Regions from separate parts of the Homo sapiens genome. Here regions 1, 2 and 4 are each linked to region 3. Evidence: promoter capture Hi-C in human tissues and cell types (Jung and others, 2019). All regions are on one chromosome and are shown on one strand. The core of a region is centred on a gene start or on the middle of the fragment in contact, and the rest is flanking DNA. Distances in the headings are between cores, read along the strand shown.

Region 1 (2,866 bases), core at 201-2,700, 350 kb after region 3:
TTCTCTGCTCCAGCCTTGGGGACCCCTCTGGTACAGAGGTCATTCACTGTACAAAGGCTTTCAGGGATGACTGGGGCCTACGTCCCAGGAGTTGGAAGAATGAGGTATCCCGAGTCACAGATGAGCCGCTTTGCTTAAGACCCTTCCTCTCTAGGGCAGATAACCGGGCCCAAGCTGTCTCCTCGGTTCAGAGCCCAGAGCTTGGCCTGTGACTTTAAAACTCAGCCCCTATTTTTGAGCACATAGCACTTCATAATAAATAGCAGAGAAAGTGAAGCTGAGACAAGATTGTATCTCAGCAGAATTGTTTCCAAATAAAGTGTTGTTTTTTCCCCCTCAAACTCTCCCTGGAGATGCCTATGGTGCTTAAAAACCACTAAATATCTCTCCTTGTTTATGACACAGACGCCATCCCTCCCTCCCCCTGTCCCTGAGCCTGGTCTCTTTTATAGCAATTGCGTGAGTGGCGCTGAAGAGAATCAGAGCAGGCGCTCGGAAGCCTGCCTGATGGTTCCCCCTCCTAGTAAGAGGGGCTCATGACAGACGCAAAATTCATGGAGAGAAGCTCCCATGACTTGAGCATCGAAGTGGGCCCTAAGTCCTGGATTTCGCTGGCTGCCTGCCACAGACTCTGAACTGCCAGAGAATCCATTCTTCTGTACCACCTGTGGGTCAGGACCTCATGAAACCCTTAACAAATTCATTTTGTGCTCTGTGCTTACAAGGCGCACAGGGAACTGGAATTGCATCTGGGAAAAAGGGATGGAAGGGGCCGTCCAAGGAGAGGTTAATGGACTAGGGTGGCTGATTCCAGAGTGAAGGTCAAAGGGAGGCTGGCTCATGGACCTTGCAGATATAATGCCTTTGTTCTCTGTTCCCACTGAAAACAGGCCCTGCAAAAGGAAGTCCTCCTCTAGCCATAAAGATTGGGGTTGGATACAAGAAAATGACATGAGGAGGAGCTGGGAACCTTGAATCACGTGATCCAAAGAGAGTGTGACCTCATTGTCCCAGAGGGTTCTCCTTGCAGGGTTTTGCCTCCTGGGGGGCCCAACCTGGCCAGCTAAGCCCAAGTGGGGAGGCTGTCAGGGTGGGTGACTGTCAGCAGGCAGAGATCTGGCCTTATGCCTCCCCATATGCTAAGTGGGGCCAACAAAAGTCCTGTCCCCACTAGAGGCTCCAGAAATGTTTTCTGAATGACAGGCAGCTCCTTCCTGATGCCAATGCCCCACCTGATAATGATCATCTGTCCAGAGGCAGGGGGAGGGATGTCATGGCCTCTGTATAGCCTATCAGCTCCAGGGTAAGCCACAGAAAACAATAACACCCCCCTCCCACTTACTTCTGTCCCCAAACTGAAGACTCGGGTTCCTCATGGCCGGGACCCTACCAGCTTGTAGTTTCACAGCCTTTTTAAAATGGCAACACGATGACTGCCCTCACCCACTGCTTTTACTGCATCCATTAGCTCAGCTCCTTCTAGTCGGGGGAAGGCAATTGACAGATGATGAACTTGAGGTTTGGAGAGTGTGAGAGATTGTCCAAGGTCACAGCTCCACCCCCTGCTCCTATTCCAGGCGAAGCACATCCAGTTGGTCCTGTGGTCCTGCCAGTTTTCTTGGCCCTTGCTCTCTGGTCTTACCACCCTAACTCAGGCAGTTCCGATTCCTCACCAGGACACACACTTTGTTCTCCCGGCCCCACGCCGCATGGCCCACTCACACCATTTCCACCCTGAGGCCAAAAAGACCTGATCGAATTGTGGTTCTGATAACGACCCTCCTACGGGGTAAAATCAAGTTTCTTGGGGGTCCTCTAAGATCCTCCAGCACTTGATTCCTCCCTATTTCCCAGACTCATCTCTCTGCCCTGCCTCATTCTTTATCTTCAAGTTTTACTGAATAGTTTATCATTTATCCACACACCACGAGGTTTCAAGCTTATCCTTAGCTAATTTCTATTCATCCTCCAAGCTCAGCTCAGACGTCATCCCTTCCAGGAAGGCCTCTCTGACCTTCTGTAAGTGGCCCTGAGCTGCCAGAGCACTGTGTACATAGCGTTGGCTGCTCAGTCACCAGGTATACCTGGCTCATCTCCAAAGCTGCCTTCTTGAAGAACACTTAGCTTTGGCCACCTGGCGCCTGGTATCATGCCTGGCACGTAGTAGACACTCAGTATATATTGGAGGCATTGACGACATCTTGACGCCCAGGCATCCTGCAGCTGAACTCCCTCCCCTTGCTCCCTGGCCAAGGTGGGTGGGGCCTACTTCCCCGACTCTGCTCTCTGGAATCTGGGGCAATGGAGTTGGGCAGGAGATGGCACACCTCACAGGGGAGGGGCCTGCCTCACCTCGTCACACTGGGCCAGGACATCACGGGCACAGCAGGAGGAAATGAGACACAGCTGCCAAGGAAACAGACCAGGAAATCTTCCCCGCGGAACAGGAAGCAGGTGGAGCATGGGGGCTGAGCTTCCGCAGGAGTGTGAGGGAGGAAACCCGGCTCCTGTGCCTCAGGTCCTCCCAGCTTGGCCCTCAGCCTGGTGGAGCAGGGGCTCTGCAGCCTGTGGGAAGGGGTCCTTATGGACTCCCAGCTTGGCCCTCAGCCCGGTGGAGCACGGGCTCTGCAGCCTGTGGGAAGGGATCTTTGCAGATCCTCTTCTCAGGCTTTAACCAGCGGGCCCCAGGGGCATGTTAGGAGATTATGTGATAGTCTGTAGTTTGCACAGTGAGCCTTGACCAGGAAGCCCCCAGGAAGACAGCTTAGCTGTCTTCAGAGTGAGGCCGGAGGGGAAGAAGGAGAGTGTAGGGGGGTATTTGGCCAAGGCCAATGTGTGTGAATCCTGAGAAATGCTGGGTGCCTTA
Region 2 (2,700 bases), core at 21-2,520, 370 kb after region 3:
GCCCAGTCCTCTACACTGAAGAGTGCTCAGTAAATGCTTATAAATAGAACTCTTCAGTTTATTTAGACTCGTTCTTTTTTTTTTTTCTTAGAGACAGGGCTGCACTCTGATGTCCAGGCTAGAGTGCAGTGCCGCCACTATCATAGCTCACTGTAGCCTCAAACTCGTGGGCTCAAGCGATCCTCCCACCTCAACCTCCCAAGTAGCTGGGACTACAGGCACGTGCCACCGTGCCTGGCTAATTTTTAAAATTGTTTTAGAGATGGGACCTTTCTATGTTGCCCAGGTTGGGACTAGGCATTCTTAACTTGGGGTCCAGGCACCCGCTGAGCTGAATGTAATGCATTTTTTGGACACAATGCCCACAGCTTTCATCAGATTCCCAAAAAGGGTCCATGACCCCAAACCAATTAGTAATAGATAATATTTGTTGAGTGTTTACTAGGTACCTGGCACCATTTTATATATTTTTCATGTATTAGCTCTCTTAATCATCACAAGATCCCTGGGAGATAGGTACAGCAGGCAGGCCTGGAGCAGAAGACAATTTGGGCCTCCCTCTGTCATGATGGAGGGTCCTGACTGCAAAACAGGAGGCAGGGAGGGGGTGTGTGACAGACATGTAGGGGAGGGGACAAAGCTCTCTGTCAGGAAGAACTGGTGCAGAGGCAGGGCAGGGCAGGGGCTCCCTGAGGGTTTACCTGGGGTCACATGGCTCCACTTCAAAAAGATTTGTTTTTATTCCCCTCCCTTCCTTCCTTCCTTTCTTCTTTCCCCTTGAAAAAGTGTGAATACGGTACAGGTGTGCACACACACACACACGCATACACACACACATATCAGGAGATGAAACATTATCTGGACTTAGCAGCCACGTTCTGTGAAATCAGCACTCCAGGGTCAGCTCCCTGTGGCCTGCCTCGACTTGATGTCCTGCTGTCTGTACATCCTTTGAATCAGTCAGGGTGTCTGGCCTACATGGTAAATTCCTCAGGCACAGGCCATGTGCCTATGCATAATTCAGTCTGAGCTTGATCAACACAAATGAACATTGTCAGGCCTTTAAACAAAGTTTGATTATTTACTTTTGAAGGAGGGCTCTTCCATGCAACCTTTCCAGTGATGACACTAGTTTCAGATGGAGCTGACCTTGGGCTGCTGGGCTCAGGCTTCTAGAAGGTGAGATGGGCAGGGGCAAGATGGAGTAGGAAGGAGCAGGGTTGGACAGCATGGGAGGAGATGGCTATGGGGACAGAAAGAAAAGTAATTCCCAAGAAGAGCACAGCTGGAAACCACCCCCTACCCCAGGGCATCTACTTGAGCAATGAGGATTAATCTCTGTTGTCAACACCTGCACAGTTTAGAGCAGGCCACTTAGCTGCCTCCTTTGAGTCTTGTGATGACTTGCTGGTAAGGTATAAGACAGTCATTCCTATCCCCATTTCATTGATGGTGATAAAGGCTAAAAGAAATTAGAATCTGGCCAGGCGCGGTGGCTCACGCCTGTAATCCCAGCACTTTGGGAGGCTGAGGCGGGTGGATCATGAGGTCAGGAGTTTGAGACCAGCCTGGCCAATATGGTGAAACCCCCGTCTCTCCTAAAAATACAAAAATTAGCCGGGCATGGTGGTGCGTGCCTGTAGTCCCAGCTACTCGGGAGGCTGAGGCAGAAGAATTGCTTGAACCGGGGAGGTGGAGGTTGCAGTGAGCCAAGATTGCACCACTGCACTCCAGCCTGGGTGACAGAGCAAGACTCTGTCTCAAAAAAAAAAAAAAAAGAAAGAAAGAAAGAAAAGAAATTAGAATCCAAGTCTCCTGACTCCAAATCTTGAACTTGGCCTACCACACAATGCTGCTCTCAGGGAACTATGGAAGCCAGCTTAGGATCCAGGGTTCTGTAGCCTGGAGATGCTGTGGCCCCTGCAGAAGCCCACCATGCTTGTCACATGCCTCAGCCTGGAGGACCAAAAACCCCGCTGCCCAGTTTCCTCGCTATCCCATGATGAATCCCATAACTTCTCCCTTAATCTGTGATCACATCCTCATCTCTGAGGAACCTGAGTAAAACACTCTCTCATATAGGACCTTTTGTCTGGAAGGTGCTCAGTGACTGTGAGTGGAATGAGCGATCAGATGAGTGAATGACTGAGTGAGTGAAGTGTTAATAATTCCTTATGGGTGCATTAGGCACATTAGGTATTCCCCTTTCCGCTATTAATAGATGGTTATACCAGAGTATCATTAACATATGTGGTACTTTTACCCACTCAAATTGTTTGTGCCCTTCCCCTGTGATAAACAATTTTGCCAAGAACATTCTTGCAGCTAGATCTTTGTACACATTGATGATCATTTACTTCAGTTAAATTCCTATGTAATCCCACTTTAATAATGGGATAAACAGAACCAAATTAGGAAGGGAAATTTGCTGCAAAAGAAAAAAAGGTCATAATAAGCAATTCTAGGCAAAACAGAACGCCTAGCCAGGCTTCCAGTTCTTGACTGTGGATAATTGAAGGGGCCCTTGCAGTTCTGCTGGGCACCCATAGCCAGAGACCTAGGGACAGCCCCAGAGTGCTCACTCTGTGGTCCCCTTTGTCTGTGATCTCATCATGGTGGGGGACTGGTTTCCCAGCTGTGTGACAAACTCCCTGACAGCAGGGACTGCATTCCCCAGTGCCTGGAGCCTGGCAGTACCTG
Region 3 (2,902 bases), core at 15-2,514:
TAACCTAAAGTTGGACTAGTGGACATTAAATGGCACGGCCAAGTTTTAGTCCCAGACGATCCCTGGACTCAGCAAATGCTGATCAAGTGACTGTCTCTCTCTGGCTTAGGATGGAAAGATGCCAGGAAAGATCGAAGCATCTACCCTGATGGGTTACACCAGGGCTTCTAGAAGGGATTTTGTGGCAGGAGGAAGGGGGGCAGGGGATTGAATGTCTCTGTGACTTGTGCAGGGCAGCATGATGGATGAGCAGTGGAAAGCCCTTCTATGAAACATGCCAGACCTGTTGCAATCGTATCTCTCCCGACGGCCCAGAATTCTGTTTCCCTGAAGACATACTAAATCGTGCTCTGGATTTATATGTGGGTGGTGACCTGCCTCTGTGCTCCCAAAGGAGGTCTGTCTACAGATGCCCGGCAGAGGAAGAAACAGATGACAACAGGGGGAGGTTTGAACCCTCTTCCCAAGAGCCTTGGAACTTCATGGAAAGTGACAGCCCTTTAAGAGTTTCCCGACTTCTGCAGATCCTTCTCTCTTTCCCAAACAGCCTGCCAGTTTTCAGTTTTGGTACACAGTAAGGATTTATTCTCTCTCTCTCTCTCTCTCTCTCTCTCTCTCTCTCTCTCTCTCCCTCTCCTGCCTAGCTATCTCTATCTCTAAGTTTGTCTTTCTGTCTCCTGTCTCTCTCTTAAGAAGTGGCCAAAGGATCCTGGAGCCTCTGATGCTCAGCCTTCAGGTCCTCCTTGGCAGAACCTGGGTAGAAAGAAAATGGGTAGGCAGGGGGTTAGGAGTAACAGCTCCTCATCTTGAATCTAGACTTTCCTGGAGCTGTATACACCTGGGAGCCCCCCAGCACATTACCAAATACTGTAGAAGGAAGTCCATGAACCACACATTGACCACAGTGATACGTCCACCCGGTGATGGAGTAGTAAAATACGCTCTTGAACGTGCCCCGGGCTGGCGAGTTCACCGGCCCTCATGGCCTCGTCCCTGCTTGTCTGGCTCTCCGTGGCTGTGATCTGCTTCTGCCAGCCTACGCATTTTTGTATCTTTTTCTCATTGCGTGGCCCCTTGTCTTTAAAAGGCTAAACTGCTCTGTACTAAATTTGGTCACGCAGCGCTCCAAGATTCCCTGGAATGTCCTCAAGTTTCAAACAGCTCTGACAGCGAGGTAGGCCCGCCCCCAGCTTGGGGATTGGCTTCTCCTCTCCGGGCCTGGCAGTTGTCGGGTCTTATTGGCCGCTGATTAGACCAGCCGGGGTCCACTAGCCCTGGGCTTCAGGGAGGCTGCTGCGTCCAGTGAACACTTCAGCACCTGTAGCACAGAAGGGCCAAGGAGCTGCAGTCCTCGACCAGCAGGAGGTTTGCTCCTCAGCCCACTCGCTGCATCCAGATCAGCTCACCCCTCTCCCTTCCCTGCCCACCAGGACTCTGATAGCCCCTGGCAGCCACAGCCCATTTTGCCAAGATGTCTAGAGTAGCCAAATATCGCCGGCAGGTGAGTGAAGACCCCGACATCGACAGCCTGCTGGAGACCCTGTCTCCCGAGGAGATGGAGGAGCTGGAGAAGGAGCTGGACGTGGTGGACCCAGACGGGAGTGTTCCCGTGGGGCTGCGGCAGAGAAACCAGACGGAGAAACAGTCCACGGGTGTGTACAACCGGGAGGCCATGCTCAACTTCTGTGAAAAGGAGACCAAGAAACTTATGCAGAGGGAGATGTCCATGGATGTGAGTGAGCACAGCCCTGGAGGGGAGGAGGGAGACAGGGGAGGGCTGGAGACCCTGGCTTCATGATTAGGATGCTTCCTTCCTTAGAAGAAACGTTCTTGTTGGCAAAGGATTTTAATGCTTCAGAACTGATGATTATCCACTGAACTAGCGGTGCGAATCTCTTACTCCTAATTTCTGTTTTATAAGCAGAAGTCGGATATGTTGGAGGAACACAACATCCCACAAAATCAAATAGAGCTACTAGTAGAATGGGAGCTGGAAGGTGTCCTTGAAGAGTCCATTGTCAAGTTGACTCCATCCTGGTCCCACAATACCTTTGTTTTTCTCCACACTCATTCCATCCTATTGTGAGGAGGGGTAAAAAGAGAGAGTGATACTTTATGTCTCCTGTCAGCCACCCAAAAAGACAAAGCTAAGCCATTTTTTGTGGGAGAATAACTCATTTTCAAGTCCCCAACCCTATGGGCATCTCACGGCACATGGATCATTTCAGGAGGCTTGGGGGTAAATGAGTTTCCCAAAGCAAAGGGAGACAGGGACCAGGAGTCTATGGGCTGGGAAATGTGGCTTAAAGACCTGATAAGCTTCAAATTTATTCCCAGGGAAGATGTTTTTTGTTGTGGTTAGTTGGTTTTTGGTTTTGTTTTGTTTTTGCACTCTCCAGAGGAGCCTCTGGAGGGAGCATGCCCTCTTTTTGGTAATTAACCCTTTAGCAGCTGGCGAGGCCGCTTTGCTGGGGGTTGAAGATAGTCATAGAGGAGGGAAAAGGGGTGACGGTTTTGGAAGCATCTGCCCACACCTACAATGGGCTTAAGCACAACTTGCTTTCTGTTTTCCTGAGTTGGCATGGAGGAATTTTTTTTTTGTCACTATTGCATTGGTATGTGAGTTTTCTTTGGACAAACTAGCCTCCGATGAAGTATGACTTTGTGGGATACCTTTGTCCATGGGAAAGAGTGTTGCATAGGAAAATTGTTCAAGTCTTTGTTCTAGTTCTCTTATTCAGCCACATCTCTTGTACATTATCCATTACTTGTGAATTCTTGCAAGAAAAAGATCAGTCTCAATTCTTGCTTTTTGTTTTACTTCTATGGAAACTGAGGCACAGAGCTTCAAATGACATGCACATTCTCACAGAGGAACTGAGAATGGGAACATTATCATCCA
Region 4 (2,723 bases), core at 176-2,675, 480 kb after region 3:
TCTCATCTCCTAACTTTGGGACTGCAGAGGAGCGCACTCCTATCCCCACAACAGGACCTTCCCTGTATCTGTTAGGCTCTGCTCTTTGGGCAGGAGGATGGCAACACAGGGTGTAAGTACAAAGAGGTCTTATTACTGTCATTATTATATATCATTACTCCCGTAAGAATCTATTATTAACATGTTGATGAATAGACCTTTAAGAAACTGTGGGCCTGGAGGAACTGATCAAGATGGGGACAGAATGAGGACCTAAGAGAGCCCTCTTCCAGTGCCTGGCTTAATCTCAGGGCCCCCATCATTCTCTAAAGGGAATAAGAGTGGGGAGAGGGGAGGAAGAACATTTCTTGAGACTCAAGAGTTGTCAGGTCCTGTCTTGGGTCTTTCACAAATGTTATCCAACTTATTCATCAGGACAACCCCATGAGATGAGAATAAATTAATCCTCCTATTCGACAGATGAGGAAATTGACGGAGGTCAGTAAAGTTGCCCCAGGTGGGCAGGACACAGCCAACAAGGGAGAAGAGGTTTGAACTCAACTCTGCAAAGCTCTTGTGTTTACACAATATTCTAGCCAGAACAGAAAGAGACCTCTCCCTCTGCGTTCCCCTCCAGCTCTGTATGCGGGAGAAGTCCATTCTTGGGGAAGGCCGAGGGAGGACAGAATCTGCGGAGCGGAAGGAGCAAGGTTGGAGCTGCGCTTACACCTGGGACTGGCTGTGCCATCGGTCCAGCGTCGGCGCCTGCAAGTGTGCGGTGGAGAGGACTGCAGACAGTGGCATCCCCAGGTCACGGAGGGGGTCCCTCCTCCCCCACTACGAGGAGGGCATGAATGACCTCAAGCCTCAGCTCTCCTTTGTTGGCACTGGCTACTCTCTACAGGCCTCCCCGCGCAATGCATGGGGGTAGGAGTAGGAGCAGGTGAACTGTCCAAGCAGAGGCAGCGATGGACAGCCTCTCTTGGGTGCTGCACAGAGAAATCGGGCGATGGAGGAGGAACCCAACATGGGCTTGATGCAGAGGCTGGGGGCCCCATGGCGTGCCAAGTAACCAGCAGCTGTCTGACGCCTAACATGCAACTGGTGCCACTGCGCGTTCGCCAAGCAAGCCCACCCCCTTGCTAGCAGCGCGCTCTCCAATCGAGGAGATGCGCCTTCCCCCTCCCTTCCCCGCCATCTCCCCCTTCATTCAAGGCCTGGGGGAGCTGCGGTTCCGAGAAGCGGCAGACGGCAGCCAGAAGGCTTGGGCTGTTGAGTAAGCAGCCCCCTCTCAGTCCCGGCCCTCCCCGCCCCGCGCCCTGCGCCTCCAGTGAGTGACTGAGCCCCCGCTGCGGCCCCGCCCCCGGGGCCCTGCCGGAGCTGGTGCGCGGCGCGGAGGGGAGGGCCGGCCAGGGTAGGAATGCGCTGCGGGCGGGCGGCGCAGGAGGCGAGCGGCGGAACATGTAAGGGCACATCCCGCGAGCTGCCGCCCAGCGCGCAGACAGAGCCCAGGGGAGCAAGAGAACGGGCGGGCGGTGGGGCTCACGGCCTAGGGAGGCGCGGAGGCATCTGGCAGAGGCGGGTCGGGCTGGGCCAGCTGGGGTAGAGCGGAGGAGCGGGTGCCGGCTGAAGCGGGGCGGTGGGCGCGGAGCGCGCTGGGGGCACCGACACCACCTCACCGGCAGCCGGGTGCTGAGGGCCGCGGTGTGGGTGCGCGGAGCAGTCAGGGCGCAGGTGGGCAGCGCGCACGGCCTGCCAGCCCGGGGCGCCAGAATCCTGCGCTGCGGGGCCGAGAGGGGCGCCGCGCCCGCCGCAGCCTGGAGCTTTCCGCGAACCTCGGGGCGCCCATGACGGCGGCGGCGACGGCTACCGTGCTCAAGGAGGGCGTGCTGGAGAAGCGCAGCGGCGGGCTGCTGCAGCTGTGGAAGCGGAAGCGCTGCGTCCTCACCGAACGCGGGCTGCAGCTCTTCGAGGCCAAGGGCACGGGCGGCCGGCCCAAGGAGCTCAGCTTCGCCCGCATCAAGGCCGTGGAGTGCGTGGAGAGCACCGGGCGCCACATCTACTTCACGCTGGTGACCGAAGGGGGCGGCGAGATCGACTTCCGCTGCCCCCTGGAAGATCCCGGCTGGAACGCCCAGATCACCCTAGGCCTGGTCAAGTTCAAGAACCAGCAGGCCATCCAGACAGTGCGGGCCCGGCAGAGCCTCGGGACCGGGACCCTCGTGTCCTAAACCACCGGGCGCACCATCTTTCCTTCATGCTACCCACCACCTCAGTGCTGAGGTCAAGGCAGGTAAGCCCCCGGGGGACTGGGCCCTCTTCTCTCCTTCCCTCCCTTCTCTTTCCCCTACAGAGAGAATGAGGACTAGCATTCTACTTCAGAGCCGGACATCTTAGGGGGGAGGTTCCTGGGGCCAACTGAGGGCATGGGAGGCTTGGGCCAGTGGCCAACCCAGCAGATCCGGACTTTCCCCTGAGGCACCAGGTTGGCCGGTCCAGAATGTGATCCAGGTGTGTGAGAGGAAGATGGAAGCCCTGGGAGGGGGATACCTGGGTGAGATGAGCCTTCTTTCAAGTTGGTTCAGCCCTGACTCAGGTGGAAGGAAGTAGAGGGAGGTTGGCCTGCACATTGCCCCAGGCTGTGGGCCTCTGCTTTCCACGCAGAGCAGGGCTCCTGGACTTCGGCTTTCTGGCAGCTGAGGACAACCGAGGGTGGGGACGCGGATCGTGGAGGCCGACCCTCT

Evidence for each region. The method cuts DNA at HindIII sites, captures the fragments that hold promoters and counts their contacts. A contact is called where the count stands out against the background at its distance.
Region 1: a contact is called between a fragment that was not itself captured here and the fragment with the promoter of LMOD1 in region 3, in 1 of the 25 tissues and cell types used here (small bowel).
Region 2: a contact is called between a fragment that was not itself captured here and the fragment with the promoter of LMOD1 in region 3, in 1 of the 25 tissues and cell types used here (liver).
Region 4: the fragment with the promoter of PHLDA3 here is called in contact with the fragment with the promoter of LMOD1 in region 3 in 1 of the 25 tissues and cell types used here (IMR-90 fibroblasts).

Annotation. Positions count from the first base shown.
Region 1 is chr1:201,597,321-201,600,186 of GRCh38, reverse strand. The region is part of intron 2 of NAV1 (neuron navigator 1); the gene reads right to left. LOC124904482 (a long non-coding RNA gene) reads left to right here. Exons shown (of 2, transcript XR_007066789.1): 2 at 1-341. Among named protein-coding and RNA genes, the nearest start is that of NAV1, 60 kb to the right of the region's middle. The HindIII fragment of the contact is 8,971 bases long and covers 1-2,866 here.
Region 2 is chr1:201,571,449-201,574,148 of GRCh38, reverse strand. The region is part of intron 1 of NAV1 (neuron navigator 1); the gene reads right to left. Among named protein-coding and RNA genes, the nearest start is that of NAV1, 34 kb to the right of the region's middle. The HindIII fragment of the contact is 8,445 bases long and covers 1-2,700 here.
Region 3 is chr1:201,944,910-201,947,811 of GRCh38, reverse strand. LMOD1 (leiomodin 1) reads left to right here and starts at 1,264. Exons shown (of 3, transcript NM_012134.3): 1 at 1,264-1,732. The coding sequence starts at 1,472. The HindIII fragment of the contact is 9,839 bases long and covers 1-2,902 here.
Region 4 is chr1:201,467,890-201,470,612 of GRCh38, reverse strand. It overlaps PHLDA3 (pleckstrin homology like domain family A member 3), which reads left to right and starts at 1,425. Exons shown (of 2, transcript NM_012396.5): 1 at 1,425-2,272. The coding sequence starts at 1,827. The coding sequence ends at 2,210. RefSeq lists silencers at 1,156-1,385, 1,596-1,905 and enhancers at 1,406-1,525, 1,040-1,754, 1,976-2,115, 2,186-2,245. The HindIII fragment of the contact is 18,719 bases long and covers 1-2,723 here.